Linked DNA regions of Homo sapiens: region 1 is linked to region 2. The links are contacts of gene promoters, found by promoter capture Hi-C in human tissues and cell types (Jung and others, 2019). All regions are on one chromosome and are shown on one strand. The core of a region is centred on a gene start or on the middle of the fragment in contact, and the rest is flanking DNA. Distances in the headings are between cores, read along the strand shown. Region 1 has its middle 3.6 kb from the start of ZNF316. Region 2 holds the start of OCM (oncomodulin).

Region 1 (6,084 bases), core at 1,699-4,198, 750 kb after region 2:
GCTGTATTCAGAATTGAGCCCAGTTCTATACTGAGGTCTCTTTTCCCTATTGCAATAGTTCCTGAATAAAATCTGTTTTTTACCGTTTTAACTACTGTCCAGCTTTGTTTTCTTTTTCTTTTTTTTCTTGAGACAGGGTCTCAGTCTGTCGCTCAGGCTAGAGTGCAGTGGCACCATCATAGCTCACTGCAGGCTCACCCTCCCGAGTAGCTGGAACTACAGGCTCGCACCACCATACCTGGCTAATTTTTTCTACTTTTTGTAGAGACGAAGTCTCACTATGTTGCTCAGGCTGTTCTCGAACTCCTGGGCTCAAGTGATCGATCCTCCCACCTTGGCTTCCCAAAGTGCTGGGATTACAGGAATAATATGGTTTGGATCTGTGTCCCCACCCAAATCTCATGTTCAATTGTTATTTATTTATTTTTGGAGACTGAGTCTCCCTCTGTCACCCAGGCTGGAGTGCAATGGTGTGATCTCAGCTCACTGCAACCTCCACCTCCTGGGTTCAAGAGATTCTCCTGCCTCAGCCTCCTGAGTAGCGGGGATTATAGGCACTCGCCACCACTCCTAGCTAATTTTTGTATTTTTAGTAGAGACGGGGTTTCACCAGGTTCGCCAGGCTGGACTCAAACTCCTGACCTCAGGTGATCCACCCACTTTGGCCTCCCAAAGTACCGAGATTACAGGCCTGAGCCACCATTCCTGGCCTCTCAAGTTCAACTGTAATCCCCAGTGTTAGAGGTGGGGCCTGGTGGGAGATGATTGGATTATGGGGGCAATTTCTCATGGTTTGATACCATTCCCCCTGGAGCTGTCACCACGACAGTGAGTTCTTGTGAGATCTAGTTGTTTACAAGTGTGTGGCACCCCTCCCTTCTCTCTCATTCCTCCTGCTGCCACCATTTGAAGTGCTGGCTCCCCCTTCACCTTTTGCCATGACTGTACGTTTCCTGAGGCCTCCCCAGCCATGCTTTCTGTATAGGCTGCAGAGACATGAGCCAGTGAAACCTCTTTTCTTAAATTACCTAGTCTCTGGCAGTTCTTTATAGCAATAGGAGAACCGACTAACACGAAACATGAGTCACCGCTCCCAGCCTCACCTATGGTTTTAATAGCAGCACTACTGCCTTCAGCCCACTCCAGGCACACAGAGGCTCCGTGGGGGCATCCATCAGCATCCTTCTGTGCCAGGCTCCCTGCCAGCCCCTGGTGTGAGAGCTCAGGAGGAGCCCAGGAGGGCTTCCTGCAGGAAGAGACAGCTGAGGAAGTCCCGAGAGCCGAGTGAAGGGGAGCTCTGCCCAGTCAATGTTCAGTCCCTGCAGGTGGGTCTGTGCAGATACGGGGCAGGCCCATGTACTTGAACGGAGATGCTCTCGGCCTCACAGAATTCCAAATGCCCCAGATGCCTGTTAACTTTTCACATACCCTGTGTCCCTGCCAGTGAGACACACGAAGGCTGAAGCATAGAACAAGCTTCATGCCAATCACTGGGTGGGCTGGCACCCTCCTCACTGCCAGCACCCACCGTGGAGGATGGGCAGGAGCCAGGCAGATGACACCCCAGGAACTGTTTCATGAGTATGCTTGGATATTCCCCCAGCCCCAACCCCACCAACTGCTCATAGATAGATGACTGACATGGAATTGTACTAGTGCAAAAAGGGTATGATTTACTTTTTTTTTTTTTTGAGACGGAGTCTCACTCTGTCGCCCATACTGGAGTGCAGGGGCGCGATCTCGGCTCACTGCAACCTCCGCCTCCCGGGTTCAAGCGATTCTCCTGCCTCAGTCTCCTGAGTAGCTGGGATTACAGGCACCCACCACCACGCCCAGCTAAATTTTTGTATTTTTTTTTTAGTAGAGACGGGGTTTCACCATGTTGGTCAGGCTGGTTTTCAACTCCTGACCTCAGGTGATCCACCGGCCTTGGCCTCCCAAAGTGCTGGGATTACAGGCATGAGCTACTGCGCCCCACATTATTTAATTTTTGAGATGGAGTCTCACTCTGTCACTCAGGCTGGAGTGTAATGACACAATCTCGGCTCACTGCAACCTCTGCCTCCCGGGTTCAAGCGATTCTCCTGCCTCAGCCTCCCGAGTAGCTGGGATTACAGGTGTGTGCCACCACACCTGGCTAATTTTATATTTTTAGTAGAGACAGGGTTTCTCCATGTTGGCCAGGCTGGTCTTGAAATCCTGACCTCAGATGATCCGCCCACCTTGGCCTCCCCAAGTGCTGGGATTACAGGTGTGAGCCACTGTGCCTGGCCCCTAATTTTTGTATTTTTAGTAGCAACAGGGTTTCACCATGTTAGCTAGGCTGGACTTGAACTCCTGACCTTAGGTGATCCACCTGCCTCGGCCTCCCAAAGTGCTGGGATTACAGGTGTGAGCCACTGCACCCAGCTATTTTATTTTATTTTATTATTATTTTTTTGAGACAGAATTTTGCTGTGTCGCCCAGGCTGGAGTGCAATGGCACAATCTCGGCTCACTGCAAGCTCCGCCTCCCAGGTTCACGCCATTCTCCTGCCTCAGCCTCCCCAGTAGCTGGGACTCCAGGTGCCCACCACCATGCCCGGCTAATTTTTTGTATTTTCAGTACAGACGGGTTTTCACCGTGTTAGCCAGGATGGTCTCGATCTCCTGATCTCGTGATCCATCTGCCTCAGCCTCCCAAAGTGCTGGGATTACAGGCATGAGCCACCGTGCCTGGCCTATTTTATTTTATTTTTGAGACAGAGTTTTCCTCTGTCACCCAGGCTGGAGTGCAGTGGTGTGAACATAGTTCATTGCAGCCTCAACCTCTTGGGCTCAAGCAATCCTCTCACCACAGCCTCCTGAGTAGCTGGGACTACAGGCATGCACCACCACACCCAACTAATTTTTAAATTTTTAGTAGAGTCAAGGTTTCACTATGTTGCCCAGGCTGGTCTTGAACTCCTGGGCTCAAGCTATCTTCCTGCTTCGGCCTCCCAAAGTGCTGGGATTCCAGGCGTGAGCCACTGCACCCAGCTAATTTTTAAAAATGTTGTGTAGCGACAGGGTCTTGCTATGTTGCCCAGGCTGCTCTCAAACTCCTGGCCTTAAGCTTTCCTCCTGCCTCAGCCTTCCAAAGTGCTGGGACTACAGGCATGGGCCAATCCTGGCCTGCTTTTTAATTACTTCCTTCTTCAAATGAGTCTAGGGAAATCTATCAAGACTGAGTTCAGTAGTGAGTGACAAGAAGGTCCAACTAAACTACAGTTTATGACAACCAATTGTCCCCAGGTCAGAGGCATCCTCAGGTGGCCCAGGCCTGGTCTAGCATCTCCCTAAGGCCAAGGACACATAAGTCCCACCAGCTTCCTTCGTCTCCTCTCCGTCTCCTCAGCCCCTCAGCAGTGCTGTTGGAGCAAGAAGCAAAACTCACTCGTAGGGCCCGGTGAGGTGGCTCACGCCCTTTCCTTTCCTAAAAAGGAAAGGGAAAGGAAGAAAAGGGAAGGAAGAAAGGAAGGAAGGGAAAGAAAGAAGGAAAGAAAGGAAAGGAAAAGGAAAAGGAAAAGGAAAATTATCTGTGGACGAGGGAGAGGAAGAAATTGAGTCTTGGATTAGGTATCAGGTGAGGACAGGCCAAGAGGAGATCTGAGGAGATGCTGGGGTGATTCGGGGTCCCTGCCTGACAGGGTGGAGGGATCTAAGGCCGGGATGGAGCTGCTGACTCTATTATACACACTCCTCTTCTGGGGTCCCTTGCTGTCCACATTACAGGTGGTTTTGGGCAACGGGCAGCACTGGGAAGTGACAGGGTGCAGGAGGGCAGGGTTGGGGTACTCTCTCCTTGCCACACTGTCCCTCTATAATCACAGTGCCCACAGTGTCCCCATCTTTATATCTCCACCTCCCTCCAGGCTTGACAACATCCTGCCCTTTCCTGCTCCTGCAGGGCTAAGGGTGGCAAAGGCCTGGTGCCTTCACATTCCAGCTGCTTCCCTTTACCTGGTGTATTAGTCCATTTTCATGCTGCTGTAAAGAACTGCCCAAGACCGGGAAACTTATAAAAGGAAAGAGGTTTAACTCACAGTGGCTCTTGCCTGTAATCCCAGCACTTTGGGAGGCCGAGGCGGGCGGATCACGAGGTCAGGAGTTCGAGACCAGCCTGACCAACACGGTGAAACCCCATCTCAACTAAAAATACAAAAATTAGCCAGGCGTGGTAGTGCACACCTGTAATCCCAGCTACTTGGGAGGCTGAGGCAGGAGAATCACTTGAACCTGGGAGGTTGACGTTGCAGTGAGCAGAGATTGTGCCACTGCACTCCAGCTTGGGCAACAGAGTGCGAGACTCCATCTCAAGAAAAAAACAAAAACAAAACAAACCACCACCACCACCACCAACCACCACCAACCACCACCACCACCAAAAACTGACTCACAGTTCCGCATGACTGGGGAGGCCTCAGGAAATTTACAATCATGGTGGAAGGGGAAGCAAACACTTCCTTCTTCACATGATGGCAGGAAGGAGAAGTGTGGAGCAAAGGGGAAAAGCCCCTTACAAAACCATCAGATCTCATGAGAACTCACTAACATGAGAACAGCATGAGGCGAACTGCCCCCATGATTTAATTACCTCCCACCGGGTCCCTTCCACAACATGTGGGGATCATGAGAACTACAATTCAAGACGAGATTTCAGTGGGGACACAGCCAAACCACATCACCTGGTGACACTGCTTTTGGTCAATTGTTAATTGTCCTACAGTCAGAGCCCTTCCTGGGAGTGCCTGGGGGCAATTGCACCTTCCTACTGAACCTGACGGATCAGGTAGGGTGGGGAAGGGTCTAATCTAGGGATTAGGGGTTCTAAAAGATACCCACAGGAGAGTCAGGCAGTGTCATTCAGATGTGGGCCTGGAGGAAAGGGACAGGGAGTGGTGGGCACTGAGGACCATGGCCACGCTCAGTCCCACCCACAGAAGCTGGTTACTTCTCAGGCCCTACTGGCTGGTGCCCTGCAAACCAGGGGCCTTGTGTTGCCAGAACTTCTGATTTTTCAGATTTTATTTATTATTAGAGACAGGGTTTCAATCTGTTGCCCAGGCTGGAGTGGAGTGGTGCTATCATAGCTCACTGCAGCCTCAACCTCCTGGGCTCAAGCAATCCTCCCACCTTGTTTTCCCAAAGTGCTGGGATTACAGGTGTGACCCGCCTCGGCCCCCCAGAGTGCTTAATTTATAGGTGTGAGACCCCGCATTAGAACCTGATTTTTCAATTTTATTTTTTAAACAAGAATGGGACTCCTTATTTTAAAATGTTATTAACTTTAAGACATTTTAAGACACCAAGAGCCAAGCGACATCACTGTGAGGGTCTGATTCAAGGGGTTGGGGCTGCACCCCTCTGTGGGACTAAGGTTTGAGTCCTCCTCTATCTTATTATTATTTTGAGACAGAGTCTCACCTTGTCGCCCAGGCTGGCGTGCAGTGGTGTGATCTCGGCTCACTGCACCCTCTGCCTCCCGGCTTCAAACGATTCTCCTGCCTCAGCCTCCCAAGCAGCTGGGACTACAGGGGTGCGCTACCACGGCCGGCTAATTTTTGTATTTTTAGTAGAGATGGGGTTTCACCCACCATGTTAGCCAAGCTAGTCTCGAACTCCTGACCTCGTGATCCGCCCGCCAAGACCTCCCAAAGTGCTAGGATTACAGACACCGTGCCTGGCCGAGTCCTCCTCTATCTCTTGCCCAGTCAGGCCTGGGGTCCCCACAGAAAAGCACCAAGAACAGTGGTGCAGGCGGGCTGGGAGCTGGGGAAGGGGCCCAGGCCACACCATTCCAGGCGGAAGACAGACCCTGGACTCCACCAATGCCAGAGCTCATCCTGACACCCCAGCTGCACCTCTTGGGAGCAGGTGCAGACAGGCTTGTGGGTGGGGGTCTGGGGGTGGCCGCTGAGCTCACCGACCCCTCCCTGGGTTCCTGGGGTCGCCTGTCACTTCTGCCCCCACACTGGCCATGCCCTCTGCCTGGACATCGCTTCCCTGCCCGTGACCCCATGTCCCTCCAAGTGCGGGCTCCACAACCCCAGTCTCCTCCTGCAC
Region 2 (5,457 bases), core at 1-2,500:
TTCAGCTTACAGAGCACCCTGTATGTGTTTGTCTTAGTTCAGGCCACCATCTCCACCTTACCAGGCATCTAGAACCTTCTCCACACTTTGCCAACAGGGTTCGTTTGCAGAATTGAAATCTTAGTTAAGGTTTGTTGAAGTTTGTTGTTGTTTTTTTTTTTTTTTTACAATTGGCTGTTCCCACCCACATTCCCTTGAGACATAAATAGAAAAAAAAAAAAAAAGAGGTTTCATGAGTAAGACAAGACATTTGAGCTGCATCCACTTGATCCTTGAAAAGGAAATCTAAGAGGTTGTAACTATCACTTTTTCTAGCCTATATAAGGTAGGTCAGTAAGGTAGCAAAAACACATCTGTTGTTTTGCTCCTTCAACTCTTTTTCCTGATTCTTCCTGGGGGGAAACCGAAAACGGTGAGTAACTGGTGGACACATCAGACCCCAGACTCTTTTCTTCACTGCATGCATTCATATTAGGCTCAGGTGCTTAGACTCCTGTTTTCCGGTGGCTCTGACACCTGGAAGGATTTTAATCTCTGGGAGATGGGCTTTTCATCCATCTGCTTCCCACCTTTCAGGACAGGTGCATGCCTTCTTCCACAGAATGTCTGCAAGCAGCCCAAACTGTATCCTTTCCCACGTGGAATTTGCAACATTGCATCTCTCGGGCTGCTGTAGGAAAATGCCAGTGCATGTGTAACATGGTTTACGGCTGCCTATGCAAATGACTGATTATGTCAGTATAATTTTTATAAGAAAACAATTGAATCCTTCTTTGGGTCATTTTTTTTTTCCATTTTTGGCATGTATTCAAAAGAAGGCTCTGAGACAAAAAAGGCTGGGGTGTTTTCCGTATCTGGTTTTAATTTGGATATTCTGTCCCGTCACTTAATACAAAACCATGCTTATCACATTTTAAAAATTCTAGACAGGCCTGGCTCGGTGGCTTGCATCTGTCATCCCAGCACTTTGTGAGGCCAAGGCAGGCAGATCACCTGAGGTCAGGAGCTCAAGACCAGCCTGGCCAACATGGCAAAACCCCGTCTCTACTAAAAACACAAAAATTAGCCAGGCATGGTAGTGCGCACCTGTAATCCCAGCTACTGGGAAGGCTTAGGCAGGAGAATCACTTGAGCCCAGGAGGCGGAGGTTGCGGTGAGCCGAGATCACGCTCTTGCACTCCAGCCTGGGTGACAGAGTGAGACTCCGTCTTAATTTAAAAAAAAAAATAATCTAGACACACATACAGTTTCAGTGGGCCTGGGAAGATGTGTTTCCCCTGGATGTGCACATTCCTGTTTGTGGCTTATCGCCTCTCATTTATTCTGTGTGAGTAGGTAGAAAATGAGCATCACGGACGTGCTCAGTGCTGACGACATTGCAGCAGCGCTCCAGGAATGCCGAGGTAGAGGGGACGTGAGGCGGGGGTGGGATTTCCTCACAGCTTTGCACCTCCAGCGAGTCAACACAAAATCAAAATGTAGGCCAGGCGGCCAGACGCAGTGGCTCACACCTGTAATCCCAGCACTTTGGGAGGCCGAGGCGGGTGGATCACGAGGTCAGGAGTTCGAGACCAGCCTGGCCAAGATGGTGAAACCCCATCTCTACTAAAAATACAAAAAAATTAACCGGGCGTGGTGGTGGGTGCCTGTAATCCCAGCTACTCGGGAGGCTGAGGCAGAGAATTGCTTGAACCCGGGAGGCAGAAGTTGCAGTGAGCTGAGATCATGCCACTGCACTCCAGCCTGGGCAACAGAGCAAGACTCTGTCTACAAAAAAAAAAAAAAAAAGTAGACCAGGCATGGTGGCTCACATCTGTAATCCCAACACTTTTTGGAGGCCAAGGTGAGAGGACTGTTTGAGCCCAGGAGTTTGAGACCAGCCTGGGCAACATAGGAAGACTCCATCTCTACAACATAACAATAAAAATAAAAACTAGCGGGGCATGGTGGCATGTGCCTGTGGTCCCAGCTACTCTGGAAACTAAGGTAGGAGGATCACTGAAGCCCAGGAGGTTGAGGCTGTGGTGAGCTATGATCGCTACACTGCACTCCAGCTTGGACGACAGAGTGAGACTCTGGCTCTAAATAAATAAATAAATAAATAAATAAGAGGTTGGCTGGAAAATTCATGGAATCAGAGAAGAAAACTGCTATTTATTAGATAACTAAAATTATAGAGATCTGGGATCTGAGCACACGATTACACATCTGTAAGACAAAAGAAACCTACTAAACATGAAAGCAAGACATCACTGAAAGGCCAGGTGTCGTGCTCACACCTGTAATCCCAACACTTTGGGAGGCCGAGGCCGGTGCATCACTTGAGGTCAGGAGTTCAAGACCAACCTGGCCAGCATGGCAAAACCCTGTCTCTATTAAAAATACAAAAATGAGCTGGGCATGGGGGTGCACACCTGTAATCTCAGCTACTTGGGAGGCTGAAGCAGGAGAATCAGTTGAACCCGGGAGGCAGAGGTTGCAGTGAGCCGAGATCACGCCACTGCACTCCAGCCTGGTGACAGAGTGAGACTCTGTCTCAAAAAAAAAAAAAAAAAAAAAAAAAAAAAAAAAAGCGCCAAAGGCCATTTAGCCTGTTGAAATCCAGTGATTGCATTTCCCCCTACCAATTAGACCAGGGATGCTGGGGGCTCAGCCACACAGCCTGTAAAGTGGGCCAGGGGGAGGGGGAGGCACAGAAGAGATGAGGAGGGAAAAGGAAAATGGACAAAACCAAGTGGAGGAGGGAAGACTGGGGCGGAGGGGACATGGGATGCCATCACAGAGCCATCAAGTCTTGGCTGTCCCAAAATCTTGGACCAGTTGAGCATCCCCGTAGCTCAGGGATATTGTTGAAGTGTTTTTAATTATCTGTGTTTTTAGTACCTTGGCCCCAACATAGAATGTGATCCAACAAGCGTCAGAATAACCAATTCTCTGTTCTTCAGACCCAGACACTTTTGAACCCCAAAAATTCTTCCAGACATCAGGCCTCTCCAAGATGTCAGCCAATCAGGTGAAGGATGTTTTCCGGTTCATAGACAACGACCAGAGCGGGTACCTGGATGAAGAAGAGCTTAAGTAAGCTTTGTCCTGAGTCTGTCTGGTACCCGGCACTGCTGAGTGGGCCTGGGGTGCAGTGGGGGCCAGGTTGCTCAGTATTTCTTCAATGGCCAGCCTTGGTGTTGGTCATTCGGCCAAGCATCATTAAAGCAAAGGACATGAGTCAGTTGACCGCACATCTACCCATGCAAAGCCCTCAATATGGGCAGAGAAGACTGCAGGTGCAAAGATTCTTTTTTTTTTTTTTTTTTTTGAGACAGGGCCTCACTCTGTTGCCCAGGCTGGAGTGCAGTGGGGTGATCTCAGCTCCCTGCAGCCTCCGCCTTCCAAATTCAAGTGATTCTCATGCCTCAGTCTCCCAAGTGGCTGGGATTACAGGTGCCTGCCACCACATCCAGCTCATTTTCATATTTAGAGTAGAGATGGGGCTTCACTATGTTGCCAGGCTGGTCTCAAACTCCTGACTTCAAGTGATCCTCCTGCCTTGGCCTCCCAAAGTGCTGGGATTACAGGTGTGAGTCACTGTGCCCAGCCACAAAGATTCTTTCATGTAAGGGATTTCCTTTGGCAAATGGACTTTAAAAAACTAAAAACTTGGCTAAGCGCAGTGGCTCACGCCTGTAATTCCAGCTACTCAGAAGACTGAAGCACAAGAATTGCTTGAAGTCAGGAGGCAGAGGTTGCAGTGAGCCCAGATCGTGCAGCTGCACTCCAGCCTGGGTGACAGAGAGAGACTCTGTCTCAAATAAATAAATAAATAAAAATTAAAAACACTAAAAACTTAAAAATGGGCCAGGCACTGTGGCTCACACCTACAATCCCAGCCCTTTGGGAGGCTGAGGTGGGTGGATTGCTTGAGTGAGCCCAGGGGTTCCAGACCAGTCTGGGGAACATGACAAAACCTTGTCTCTACAAAAAAAAATACAAATGTTAGTGGGGCATGGTGGGGTGCACCTGTAGTCCCAGCTACTCAGGAGGTTGAGGCAGGAGGATTGATTGAGCCCAGGAAGTCGAGGCTGCAGTGAGCCATGATGGTATCACTGCATTCCAGCCTGGGTGACAGAGCAAGACCCTGTCTCAAAAACAAACAAACAAACAAAACCTTAAAAATGAAGTGCCCACCATTGGTTTCTACAGCTTAAGGAAACCTTTGCTTGCTAAGACCTTGGTTAATTATTGCCGGTGCTGGAAACAGGTGATATGCTTAGAGGAAAAACAAAAGTGTAAACACAGAGATGCATGATCTTTTTGAAAATCCCCATGGATCTTTATTATCCTGTAGGTTTTTCCTCCAGAAGTTTGAGAGTGGTGCCAGAGAACTGACCGAGTCAGAAACCAAGTCCTTGATGGCTGCGGCGGATAATGATGGAGATGGGAAAATTGGAGCAGAGGGTATGTCCACACGTGTACGTAGCATAAAACACTCTAGCTCAGGAAGCATCCGTGAGGGCTTGGGCTGTGAGATCAAACCAATGTGGCTTAAAATCTCCCTTTCTTAAACTTACCGAGCCTCAGTCTTCTCATCTGTAAAATGGGACTAAAGTAAGGATGCAAATGATGTGTGTAAAAACCCTGGCATAATGCTCGGTAGGTACTATAGAAGCTGGTCACACTGGTCATTGTCTATGAGCTGCAAAATATCCTTCACCTGACTAGGGGACTAGCTAGCCACCTGGCCAATTATTTGCACCTGCCAACCATAATGCACCTGCATAAAGCGCGAGGTATTTCTACCAGTGGGGTTTGAACCCCTCAGAATAAGGGAAAGATTTACATCCTCAGACCAGGGTCCATTGGCATGCGTAGGAAGCCCTCTTCGTCTTCAAGGGTTTAGACAAATATATTTTATTGGACATTAGCCCGCCAAGGGGATAATATTAAACAGAGAACAAATAAGCCAACCTCATTTATTGAGTCTTCCATAGGCCGAATCCTAGGTTTGAGCTTTAGAATACACTAGCACAGCTGTAGGACTATTTTCACTTGATTTTGTCATGTTGCTAGCGTGCTTTTTAACTGCTTTGTGCCTGCCAACTCAGCAGAACATATGATGGTCCTTCTGGTGGTGCTAATTTGAAATTTAAAACTGCTACGTTAGATGCTTATTAAAAAAAAAAAAACCTGTTCAAAATTATACCACTATCGCTTACTACATGGGAGTTAATGCAGATAGATAGCTCATAAAAACAGATTAGGTAAGGGGGGATTGCCTTATTTAAACATAACCAGGGGCTGGGCGTGGTGGCTCAGGCCTATAATCCCAGCAATTTTGGAGGCCAAGGTGGGCAGATCCCCTGAAGTCGGGAGTTCAAGACTAGACTGACCAACATGGTGAACCCCATCTCTATTGAAAATATAAAAAATTAGCCGGTCATGGTGGTGGGCACCTGTAATCCC

The links. Contacts are between HindIII fragments. The study calls those that stand out against the background at their distance.
Region 1: a contact is called between a fragment that was not itself captured here and the fragment with the promoter of OCM in region 2, in 1 of the 25 tissues and cell types used here (aorta).

The regions. Positions count from the first base shown.
Region 1 is chr7:6,630,714-6,636,797 of GRCh38, forward strand. No RefSeq gene overlaps it. Among named protein-coding and RNA genes, the nearest start is that of ZNF316, 3.6 kb to the right of the region's middle. The HindIII fragment of the contact is 5,006 bases long and covers 446-5,451 here.
Region 2 is chr7:5,879,548-5,885,004 of GRCh38, forward strand. It overlaps OCM (oncomodulin), which reads left to right and starts at 1,251. Exons shown (of 4, transcript NM_001097622.2): 1 at 1,251-1,403; 2 at 2,946-3,078; 3 at 4,343-4,452. The coding sequence starts at 1,343. The HindIII fragment of the contact is 18,194 bases long and covers 1-4,352 here.